Regions from separate parts of the Homo sapiens genome. Here region 2 is linked to region 1. Evidence: promoter capture Hi-C in human tissues and cell types (Jung and others, 2019). All regions are on one chromosome and are shown on one strand. The core of a region is centred on a gene start or on the middle of the fragment in contact, and the rest is flanking DNA. Distances in the headings are between cores, read along the strand shown.

Region 1 (6,172 bases), core at 2,579-5,078:
GTTTGAGGGCCTTTCCTCAGTCCTCCTGTGGAAGCAGAAGGCAGTTACTTAATCTATCTAAAGAACAGTTACAAACAATTACCAAACCACCTGTCCACCCTAGGCATTTCTGAAGGCTCTCATTGGAAACAGTAGATTCATTTCAACAAATGTTTCTGTTAGCCAACTTGGAGATGGTGTTTGTTCACCACGAGCTGTGCTAATAGAAGCTTGTGAAGGTACAAGGTGATACAAGTGACAAAAATATGCCCACTAGTTACCTATTATTTCTGATATTTCTTTATTAGACTGTTGTGTTGGCTCTGTTTTAATTTACCTATACCGTATATTATGTAGCCATTGAAAAATATGATTTAAAACATGAAGTAATCCCTGTTTTTGTGCCCATGTTTCTTGGATTGTGTTTTTAGGTTCTAAAAGCATTGAAATTGATTCTCCAATGACTCCTTTCCAGAAGTTATTCTTACATGTAAGATCAGATCTGTCAGTGGTGATTTCTATGTATTTGGATATTTAGTTTATAGCACATTTAAGTTATCTGCATTATGTTATTTCTCAAATCATAGATCTATATTATAATTTTAAGAATCCCTTTCACCCTCCATACTGTATCCAAAGATCACTTTTTTCAAAGGTCACCTAGGCAGAATAATCAAATTAATGCTTTTAATTTGGTAATACTGAAAAGTAAATTGCAATGTATGCACACACAGATTGAAAATCAGGTGCCACAGACATGAGCATGCACAGAGAATTTCTGCATTCTCATGCCTTAGTTTATCAAATAAGGAAAATGTATAAAAAGCTACTCCACAATTGGTGTGTGAATATATTACTTTATCTAAATGCATCTTCTCAGGCCAGGCATGGTGATTGATGCCTATAATTCCAACTGCTCAGGAGTCTGAGGATCGCTTGAGTCCTGGAGTTCTAGGCTGCAGTGAGTATCACAGTGCCTTCAGCCTGGGCAAGAAAGTGAGATTCTAGCTCTAAAATATTTTAAAATTCATCTTTTCACCTCAGTTTGTGTGCCTCTGCTGGAAAAGAAAGTCCAAAGGTTATTGTTACATTATGCAAATAATATGGGCTTGCAATCAAAAGAGCTGGTTCCTAATTCTCACTTTACCACTAACTTGCTGAGTGACTTCAGGTAAGTCACTTAACTTCTCTGGTTCTCATTTAAACCAAGTGATCTCTTTAAGTCATTTCTAATGTGAAAACTGCGTGATTTAATGAGATATACATTTTGGATAATGATATGGTTAGATTGTGTCCCCACCCAAATCTCATCTTGAATTGTAGCCCCCATAATTCCCACGTGTTGTGGGAGAGACCTGGTGGGAGGTAACTGAATCATAAGGGTGGGTTGTTCCCATGCTGTTCTTGTGATAGTAAATAAGTCTCATCAGATCTGATGGTTTTAGAAAGGGGAGTTCTCTTTCACATGCTCTCTCTTGCCTGCCACCATGTAAGACGTGTCTTTGCTTCTCCATTGCCTTCTGCCATGATTGTGAGGCCTCCCCTACCATGTGAAAATGTGAGTCCATTAAACTGCTTTCCTTTATAAATTACCCAGTCTCAGGTATGTCTTTATTAGCAGTGTGAGAACAGACAAATACAGATAAATTGTGGCTGTGCATAGCTTCTCTTCCTCTGGGGTTCAGGAACATTTTTTTCCTTACTCCCTAGTTGGAGCCACTTTGGCTCTATTAATGACTTACCCCAAGAAAACCTCACAGCAAGGACTCAACAGTGATGAGGGAGCTATACTAAAACAATATCCCCCAGATAGCCCAATGGGAGAGAGATTTGTATGGGCATGGGTTTAGTCAGAGCCCAAAACTTGTTGTGTCTTCTCTGGAAGAACCTCCCAGACCTCCCCAGCTAAACTCATAACCACATCCCTTTCCTAGTTTATCTTCTGTGTCCATTTACTGCACTGAAACTTCCTATTCCAAGTCAACGTTTCACCTCCAGATTGACATCCAAGCTGAAATCTGCTAACAGGGTCAGAAAACAGTTCATAAAGGAAAGTAAGCAAAAATGTTGAACCCATTCCAGCTTAATAAAAAAAAAAAAAGCCCACAATAACAAAATCTAAGGTTCTGTGTGCTTTCCTACCAATATAAAACACAGCTTTCTCCCAGAAACTCAACCATTTTCCATAATCATGATCTTCTATTAACAACTCACATCTTTCCAAGTAGGCACATTCTCTCTGTTCTCTTATGTCAAAAGTACATAACATGGTGCAGTGATCCAACTATGGGCTGGCTTCTCTGCAAACTGTCAACATTTCTCTCCCTGCCTTCCCTTTGTTCCTAAGAGCAGTTGTGGATTGGTATAGACCCAAAATGGAAGTTGAAATATGCATTGCATCATTTGTCACATTAGCTACAAAGGAAGCAGCAGAAGTAATCAGAAATGAGGAGCAGGAAATTTCCGATAAACAACTCTGATGGTTATCTGGAAGCTGAATTGAATCACAGGCACAAGAACTTGGAATTGCATTTTGAATTGCAGAATTAGAGGTAACTGCCTCCCACCTATATGATAGTGTCAATTAATCAAAAATTGAATATAGTTTTACAGGCTTAGCATTCCATTCCATTCTGCGACATGTCAGAGAGCATTTATTTATTTAACAGGCTGACATGAAGCACATTTGGATTTGGAAAAAGAAATAATTAAAAAGAACCACCCTGGGTGGCCCAGATGTGGATACTATTATGGATGTTGATAGTATTTGGAGGTGAAATGAACGAGTTTTTTTTTACAGACTCAATATTGACCAATGAAAACATGTAACTAATGAATTTAGCCCTGTAGTCAAGCAGTTTAAGCCTTTTTCAACATAGATTAGGAAGTTAGAATGGATGCCTCTCATTGAGTTTGCATTCAGTAGAATAAGTAAAGCTTGTTTAACTCATGCATCTCTCACTGGCCGCCTCTCTCTTTAATTTGGGAATAGAAAAGGGAGTCCACAATTAATTTTAGATTGTGAGAAGAGAGACAAAAAAAGGAGCAGAGAGTTTCTGAGATAACCTAAAATCTTTGCCGCACCCCTTACTAACCCCGGTTTGTGCCCCTTCACTATGGGAGTAGCTCTTGTCATCATCTAAAAAACTTGAACTGCATTTTGAGAGATTTATTGGCCTTGCTTCTGCAGGCTCATAACTCCTTTATGTGCTTGCTCTTGGGAGGAAAAAGCAGATAGACGTTTAAAAGCTGGATGTTCCTGCACACCCCTCTCCTGATGCTTCATTCTTTTCCAGGCAGAAAGATGGTGGGACTCTGTCTCTAGCAAAGGGATATTTCCAGATACTGAGGTGTTGTCAGAGACACCTGGTCAGGGAGGTTAGGAGAAGGGGCATCCAGGTCCACCCCCTCCAACTGGCTGCTGCTTTCCTGGCAGGGCTGCACTGGGACACCTCACTTCCTTCCCACTTCCCCTTCCTCCTCCCATTCGCTGTCTCTTTGCACACCCCTAATATGGCCTTTCATAGTAAGAGGTCAATATGTTTTCACACTTGGGAAATCTCATTCAAGAATTTTTGTCAATGGACAAGTCATAAGAAGCCCTTCCATTTTAGGGCTCGTTGACGTCACCAAGAGGCGATAAATATCTGTTGATATAATTGGATGTGAGATTCAGTGTTGAGATAGCAAAATTCTGCCCCTCGTTCCTTGGCAGGGCCCTATGATTTATGCAGGAGCAGAGGCAGCACGCAATCGAGCTGTCAAGAGAGCGTCAGCTTATTAGGCAAATGCTGCGTGGTTTTTGAAGAGGGTCGACACTATAAAATCCCACTCCAGGCTCTGGAGTGGAGAAACTCAGAGACCAAGTCCATTGAGAGACTGAGGGGAAAGAGAGGAGAGAAAGAAAAAGAGAGTGGGAACAGTAAAGAGAAAGGAAGACAACCTCCAGAGAAAGCCCCCGGAGACGTCTCTCTGCAGAGAGGCGGCAGCACCCGGCTCACCTGCGAAGCGCCTGGGAAGGTAGGGAGCGCCTGGACGGAACACGCCACCAACTTTGCGTTGCCTGAGCTGCCGCGATGTGCGCCGCGGAGCCGGCTGCCCCTGCCTGTGTACGTGTGTATGCATGTGTGTGCGTGCGTGTGTGTGTGTGTATGCATGTGTGTATGCGTATGTGTGTGTGTGTATGCGCGCGTGCGTGCGTGTGTGTGTGCGCGCGTGTTCGCGGACTATTCCTTAAGATTACAATAGTAGCTGGGATGTGGCAAAAGCAAACTTAGACGGCTGCTCTTCGTTACCCGTGCTGCCAGTTGCTCCTTGCTGGCTGTGTAAAGGAGCTCCCCCACCCCCTTCTATCCTAACCCCCGAGATAAGGCAGCAAGGGCAGAAGTGGAGAGGGAGGACCATGAGGCAGTAGTTCTCAATTTGGAAGAAAATGCTGAAATATCCGGAAGGGAGGTAGTCAGCGCGGGTGGGATCTTAAATCTGTGGCTCTTCTCTAGGATCGGGAAAATTAGTTTTGAGGATCGTTAGGAAGAGGACGCAGGGACCGTCCTTTCAGAGTCTAGAAAGAAGGGTCACTCCTGGCCGGTGAGCGCATGAGCTTAGGTGCGGAGCCCTGCAGGCGCCCCCTTTCCCCGCTCCCCAGGCGCTTCAGCACCGCGGACAGCGCCCATCCGAATCACTGAGGCCAAAGCCCAGCACGTCTAAGGCAGTCCCGTAGGAAGACCCCGTGTGCACCTCCCAGCTGAGCGAACTCTAACCAACTCTTTCTTTCTCTCTTCCCCTCTCTCATTCCGCCCTCCGCCCACCTCTGTGCCGCAGCGAGTGCCCCTAACATGCGGCTGCCGCTGCTTGTGTCCGCGGGAGTCCTGCTGGTGGCTCTCCTGCCCTGCCCGCCATGCAGGGCGCTCCTGAGCCGCGGGCCGGTCCCGGGAGCTCGGCAGGCGCCGCAGCACCCTCAGCCCTTGGATTTCTTCCAGCCGCCGCCGCAGTCCGAGCAGCCCCAGCAGCCGCAGGCTCGGCCGGTCCTGCTCCGCATGGGAGAGGAGTACTTCCTCCGCCTGGGGAACCTCAACAAGAGCCCGGCCGCTCCCCTTTCGCCCGCCTCCTCGCTCCTCGCCGGAGGCAGCGGCAGCCGCCCTTCGCCGGAACAGGCGACCGCCAACTTTTTCCGCGTGTTGCTGCAGCAGCTGCTGCTGCCTCGGCGCTCGCTCGACAGCCCCGCGGCTCTCGCGGAGCGCGGCGCTAGGAATGCCCTCGGCGGCCACCAGGAGGCACCGGAGAGAGAAAGGCGGTCCGAGGAGCCTCCCATCTCCCTGGATCTCACCTTCCACCTCCTCCGGGAAGTCTTGGAAATGGCCAGGGCCGAGCAGTTAGCACAGCAAGCTCACAGCAACAGGAAACTCATGGAGATTATTGGGAAATAAAACGGTGCGTTTGGCCAAAAAGAATCTGCATTTAGCACAAAAAAAATTTAAAAAAATACAGTATTCTGTACCATAGCGCTGCTCTTATGCCATTTGTTTATTTTTATATAGCTTGAAACATAGAGGGAGAGAGGGAGAGAGCCTATACCCCTTACTTAGCATGCACAAAGTGTATTCACGTGCAGCAGCAACACAATGTTATTCGTTTTGTCTACGTTTAGTTTCCGTTTCCAGGTGTTTATAGTGGTGTTTTAAAGAGAATGTAGACCTGTGAGAAAACGTTTTGTTTGAAAAAGCAGACAGAAGTCACTCAATTGTTTTTGTTGTGGTCTGAGCCAAAGAGAATGCCATTCTCTTGGGTGGGTAAGACTAAATCTGTAAGCTCTTTGAAACAACTTTCTCTTGTAAACGTTTCAGTAATAAAACATCTTTCCAGTCCTTGGTCAGTTTGGTTGTGTAAGAGAATGTTGAATACTTATATTTTTAATAAAAGTTGCAAAGGTAATCATGACTTTACTGTTTCTCTTCAGTGCTCATACACTGGAAATACTCTCTTAGCTTCCTCCAAATTGTCTTCAGCACCAGAAAAGAAAAGCAAAACTTCCTGCATTATATTTTTCCACTAAAAATGCAAACATATGTCAGTGGCTTACACAGACCCTGCAATCACGTTGGGCTCATCTCTGTGCCATGGACTACTTCTCTGAGGTTGAGTTAATAATTCAGGAAGTTGCTCCCAGCAGCTCTAAAACATGGTAATTCTAAAA
Region 2 (6,172 bases), core at 936-3,435, 100 kb before region 1:
TGCATTCCCTGGGAAGGATCTTAGCACATCCAAAAGACATAGATAAGACAACTTGGAGTTATGCTGCGCAAACCCACCAGAGCACATTGGGAACAAAAGGGTAAATGCAAATACAACGCTCATTGATGTTCTACCGCTGAGTGAGCAGCCCAGCTTGGAGAAAACAGCTTTATCTTATAGTTCATTAAATTGGAGTTTGCTATGGTTTGAATGTTTGTGTCCTCCCCAAATTCATATGTTGAAGCCTAATCTCCAATGTGATAGTGTTAAGAGCCAGGGCCTTTAGGATGTGATTAAGTCATGAGGGTAAAGCCCCAGTAGATGGCATTAGTGTCCGTATAAGAGAGGCTTGAGAAAGCTTGCATGCTCCTTTCACCATGTGAGGACACAGCTAGAAGGCACTATCATTAGAAATGGGCCATCACCAGACACCAAACCTGCCAGCTCCTTGATCTTGAACGTCCCAATGCCCAGATCTGTGAGCAATAAATTTCTGTGATTTATACATTACTCAGTCTAAGGTATGTTGTTAGAGCAGCAGGAAAGAACTAAGACAGAAATAAGAGCGTCCACACAGATGTGCCAGTTATTGAAGAACAGCTGTGACCTACACTTCCAAATTAATCTTCAGCATTTTTACCACAGCTGGGTAGAAAGATAGTGGTTTTAATTTCAAAACTTGCTTTGAACAGGCCAGATGCTACAGTCAGAAACCCAGCACTGAGCAATGTCCTGACTGGTCCAGCCACAACAGGGACGTGAGCCAGCCCCGAGTGGGCCTTTGACTTGCAGCAGAGAGAATATGAGAAAGTAATGGGTGAGTGGCGGCCCTGCAACTGCTCTGCATGTTGGGACAGAAGCAAGCTGCACATTTTAGCAACAGCTTTGAGTTTCTGCTATTGTTCCCCTTCAAGGGCTCTCATCTAGAAGAATGGGTCCATGGGGTGCTGAGAAAGATCAGGGAGAAAAACAACTAGAAAAAAAAAATTCTCTTCATCTTGGCAGCCATTCATGATCACAACTTGAAAGATGACATTCAGGACAATGGTTTGGAGCTCCTGAAAAGCCATCCTGTGGGCCCCCATCTTTGCTGAAGTTTCCAGCTGTCGGGACCAGGTTGGCATGAGACAAATGGACTAAATTTGCCAGCTCACCTAGTTGTCCTTGAGGCCGGAGTCTGGACAGAGGTCACTCAAGCCTGCTGACCATGTGTTCACCTGTACTCCTGTGGTGATGGCGGGTAATGGAGCCAGCACCACCGTTGGCAAGATCCATCACTGTCTGCGTTCATTCATTGGAACATGTTTGATGCCCACAATGTACCCACCTGAGTAGGATCTGAGAGAAGCCTCCATTTCTTCTCTCAGAGTCACAGGCAAGTGGGGAGCACAGACAAGTGGGCTTCATAATGTGGTGTGATGAGGACCAGGCAGGACACCAGAGAGGTGCAGGGGAAGGACACTCAGCCCAGCCCGGCCTAGGGGTGATGCTCAAATTATGGCTTTTAGGACCATTATGAGTGGAACAGTGTTCCCTGCAAGAAAGATATGTGGGAATCCTCAGCCCCAGTACCTCAGAATGTGCCATTATTTGGAATTAGGTCCTTTACAGGGGTAATCAAGTTAAAATGAGGTCATTAGAATGGGCTCCAACCCAGTATGACTAGTGTCCTTATAAAAAAGGGAAGGTTCGGGCCGGGCGTGGTGGCTCACGCCTGTAATTCCAGCACTTTGGGAGGCCAAGGCGGCCAGATCGCGAGGTCAGGAGATCGAGACCATCCTGGCTAACACAGTGAAACCCCATCTCTACTAAAAAAATACAAAAAAATTAGCCAGGCGCGGTGGCAGGCGCCTGTAGTCCCAGCTACTTGGGAGGCTGAGGCAGGAGAATGGCGGGAACCCGGGAGAGGGAGCTTGCAGTGAGCCGAGATCGCGCCACTGCACTACAGCCTGGGAGACAGAGCGAGACTCCATCTCAAAAAAAAAAAAAAAAGGGAAGGTTTGGGCACAGGAACAGCCGCGCACACAGGGGGAGTGCCATGTGATGATTGGAGTTATGCCGCCACAAGCCAGGGACCCACCAGAGTCTGGGAGAGAGGCCCTCACACCTTCGGAGGGAGCATAGCCCTGGCGAGCATCTTGATTTCAGACTTCTGGTCTCCAGAACTGAGACCATACATTTCTGTTGCTTTAATACACCCAATTTGAGGTATGTTGTTAGGAAGGAACTAGGAAACGAATACAAGAACTCAGGGGCTATCCAGGTGGAGAAAGAGGGCTGGACACTCCCAGCCCCGGTGTGGAGACGGGGACCCTGGCGCACTTGTTGGCATAACTGAGAAACAGGAACAGGCATGTGGGGCCACCATAGTAGTTGAGGCTGAAGGGGCTGGAGCGGGAGGGGGCCCCTTTCCTTCTGCTATGGTTTAAATGTTTGTGTCTTCTCCAAAATTCCTGTTGAAACTTAATTCCCAATGCAATAGTGTTGCAAGGTGAGGCCTTTAGGAGGTGAGTAGGCCATGGGGGCTTGGCCCTTATGAATGGATTAGTGCCTTATAAAAGGGCTTGAAGGGGCAACTTCATCCCTCCTGTCCCGTCTGCTGTGTGAGGACACAGTGCTCCTCCCCTCTGGAGGATGCAGCAACAAGACACCAACTTGCAAGCAGAGAGCAGCCCTCCCCAGACACACATGGAATCTGCCAGTGCCCAGGTCCTGGGCTTTCCAGCCTCCAGAACTGTGAGAAATAAAAAGTTTATGTTCTTTATAAGTTACCCAATCTCAGGTATTTTGTTTTTGCTGCAGGAAATGATTAGGATACTCTTTCTCTACCCCTGGATGACCCCTGAGTCAGGTATTAGTTTCCTAGTTGCTGCTGTAACAAAGGCTGGAGAGGAGGGTATTGCTTAATCATGAAGACCTCGGCCTGATGCCATACTAAGGAGTGTGGGTTTTATCCTAAGAGCAATGCGAGTACAAAGGAACATCAACACAGCCCACTTGCCCCCTTGGCAGCCTAGCAGAGACTGCTGCAAGGGGAGGAGCTCAGGGAGGGAGGCACCAATGTTCTGCACAGGCTAGCACGCGACCCAGCCTGGGCTCAAGGAGGTCTGATCTCACATGGGTCTGATCTGCTGTGAATGGTGCAGGAGGCTTAATTTCACCCGTCTCCCCATGCCTCAGTTTCCTCCCTTCCGTCCCAGCCACAGAAACCACTGAATCAGATTGCAGAGGGATTTGGCCACACAGGAAAATGCTTTGACCTCTCTGAAGGAGAAGCGCCTCACAACTGTACATTTCATTATATTATCAGTGTTATTAATAAACTCTTCCCTGCTGGAAAGCCTGCTGTATTGTTTTCAACTCTCTGCTGGGAGGTCATGCTCAGTATTTGATTTCTCTCCATTCATACCTCCCCTTTTCCCAAACTGTCTCTTTTTTAAGACTCGATTTCAGGCCCACATTACCTTAGGACCAGTTTTCCCTTTGTGTTTTTCTGTCACCTCCTTTTAAAGTGACTCTTGTGGCACTTAATATGGTTTGATTGAAGAACACACTCTCTTTCCTCTGAGCCTGAGCTGGTCTCCTGGAGTCTCTCCCAGCAGCTGCTGGCTGCATTCAGGAAGGATGCACTCACTTTCCTGTCATCACCAGGCTAATTCCTTTATGCTCTTTTCAAGACCTGTAAGCCCACCATTCACAGTGAGAGGGAAGAACTGGATTCCCCCTTAGCAGAAGCTTGGAAGGATAAAGGGAAAAGCTTTATGACTATTAATATACATTCACAATTTACCAAGTGCCCAAGAGGGCACCGGCTCTGTACCGCACAGAAAGTGGCACAGCCTCATCACGATCCAGAAATTCAGAGCCATTGACCAACTAAGGGGGAGAATAAGTATATAATTTTCTCTCTCTCTCTCTCTTTCTCTTTCTCCTCCTCCTTCTTCTTTTTTTCTGTCTCTCTCTCTTTCTTTCTTTCTTTCTTTTCTTTCTCTCCTTCCTCTTATGAGGTCTCACTATATTGCCCAGGCTGTTCTCAAACTCCTGGACACGAGTGATCCTCCTGCCTGCACTGGGCCAAGCATACAGTGTCCAATCATCTCTCAGCTCCTAATATTGGATGCCATGATTCCCAAACCTGGCTGTGTCTCAGCTCCACAATCTGCAGGGTGAGGTCCAGGAATCTGCATTTTTAAGAAGCTCCCTGGGGAGACTTGAGGGCATGTTTAAGTTTGGGGACTGCTGAAGTGGTCCTGAGTGGTGCCATGATGTACTGTCCTATCAGGGATCAGAGGCATTCGATCATGCTTACCCATCTTCCTCCAGGCTCACTCTTATTCATTCATTCAACAAGAATTTTACTGAGGGGTGGCTGCAGGCCAGATGCTGTGCCACGTGCTCGATGCACCCTGGTTGACGTGCAGATGAGCAGGAAGAACATGGTCCAAGCTCCCAGAGACCCAGCATCCTCTGTGGGCACCTTGCCAAGGCTCCTCAGCTGAATCAGGGAAGGCCGGGAGCCCTGCAGGTGGGGGATAGAGTCTGTGTGGCTAGAAATGTGGACAGCTGTAGACATGGGAGGAGACAGGCTGGGTGCAGTGGCTCACACCTGTAATCCCAGCACTTTGGGAGGCCGAGGCAGCCGGATCACCTGAGGTCAGGAGTTCGAGACCAGCCTGGCCGACATGGCAAAACCCTGTCTCTACTGAAAATACAAAAATTAGCTAGGCGTGGTGGCGGGCGCCTGTAGTCCCAGCTACTCGGGAGGCTGAAGCAGGGTAATTGTTTGACCCCTGGAGGTGGAGGTTGCAGTTAGCTGAGATCACACCACTGCACTCCAGCCTGGGTGAGAGTGAGACCCTGTCTCAAAAACAAAAACAAAAAACAAACAAAAAACAACAACAAAAAAACCCTGACACTTCTGGATTTCTTGCTTTTTTTGCCTTTCTGAGACAAATATTTGCGGAGGCAGCACTTTATGGAGACCAAGTGCCTGCTGTGGGGCCAGGTTGCTCAGTTCAAGTGCCCCGTGTGTGCAGTATGGTGCTGGGCGAGTTCCTCTGCTGGATGAGGCTTCCCCAAGGGGAGAGGGTGGCATGAGCAGGACCTACGAAGTGCAAGTGGACTCTGGGCTGGACACTGTGACAGCTTGAAGAGGCGAAGGGGCAAGGCCCCGCTCTCACAGAGCTCATATTCTGGAGGGAAGAGCCCAGTGAAGACAGAGTAGTTTCGGATGCTGACACTGCCATGAAAAAATAACCCTGGAGATGACAGGACAGTGACTCCGGGGGCTGGGGGAGGGTGTTAGGGGAAACAAAGACTTCCCCTCTCCTCTCCTGGGTTCTGTAGCTGGGCCTATGAAATAAACGAACAACAGGCAGATTAACAGGAGAAAAAAAATCAACAAATTTATTAATTTTAACTATTACGTGCACAGGAGCATCCCAGGATAAAAACTGAATATCCCAAAAAGCAGTAAGATGTGAGAGCTTGTTTCCCTAGGGGAAGGGGAAGGGGAAGTAGGCCACTTAGGGCAGATTAAACAGTTTTTAGGAAAGACAGATGAGACCTTGGAAGAGTAGGGAGAAATGACAGTTTGGGCCAGTTTTGTGTGGGCGTGGTGTGGACTTCTAACATCCTGTCCGGTGGTAAGGGTCCAGTTTCTCTGGTTGATGAAAACTCCTGGGGAGGGGATTGAAGACAATGGAATTCCTTTAGGAGGATATGTCTTTAGGCAGATTAGAGGAGTTCAGAGAAAGCCTCTCCCAGCATTTGTTGGTTTTCAAATGTCTTCAGCTTAAAGTAACCAGTATACTAAAGCAGCATATTTTGGAGTGGTGTGTCCTGAACTCCTTCAGGTTGACCCCATGGAGGAGGTTCTGGCTCAGCTGAGTCCTGGCAGCCATCCTGGAAAAGATCAGGGTGGTGGGGGATGTCCCAGGATGAGAGACAAGCAGGGTGCTCACTTGAGTGCAGTGAGAAAGGGGTGAGGCTGACAGGGTGGCTCCCAGAGGCAGGCATGGCAAGACCAAGCTGTGGGTCTTGGGGTTTTGTTTTAAGTGGCATAGCAAGCTGTTGGAGACTTTTAGGCAAGGGAGATATACGATTTAATTTACATGTTAAAAATACACCCCCTCCCACCTTGTGCAATTAAAATATCACCAGCACCCACCCA

What was found. Contacts are between HindIII fragments. The study calls those that stand out against the background at their distance.
Region 2: a fragment that was not itself captured here is called in contact with the fragment with the promoter of CRH in region 1 in 2 of the 25 tissues and cell types used here (spleen and thymus).

Annotation. Positions count from the first base shown.
Region 1 is chr8:66,176,120-66,182,291 of GRCh38, reverse strand. CRH (corticotropin releasing hormone) reads left to right here and starts at 3,828. Exons shown (of 2, transcript NM_000756.4): 1 at 3,828-3,999; 2 at 4,801-5,916. The coding sequence starts at 4,815. The coding sequence ends at 5,405. It overlaps LOC112268029 (a long non-coding RNA gene), which reads left to right. Exons shown (of 4, transcript XR_002956713.2): 3 at 411-469; 4 at 2,332-2,406. RefSeq lists an enhancer at 4,873-4,942. The HindIII fragment of the contact is 9,798 bases long and covers 1,564-6,172 here.
Region 2 is chr8:66,274,993-66,281,164 of GRCh38, reverse strand. All of the region lies in intron 1 of LOC102724687 (a long non-coding RNA gene), which reads left to right. Among named protein-coding and RNA genes, the nearest start is that of LINC00967, 86 kb to the right of the region's middle. The HindIII fragment of the contact is 5,569 bases long and covers 1-4,969 here.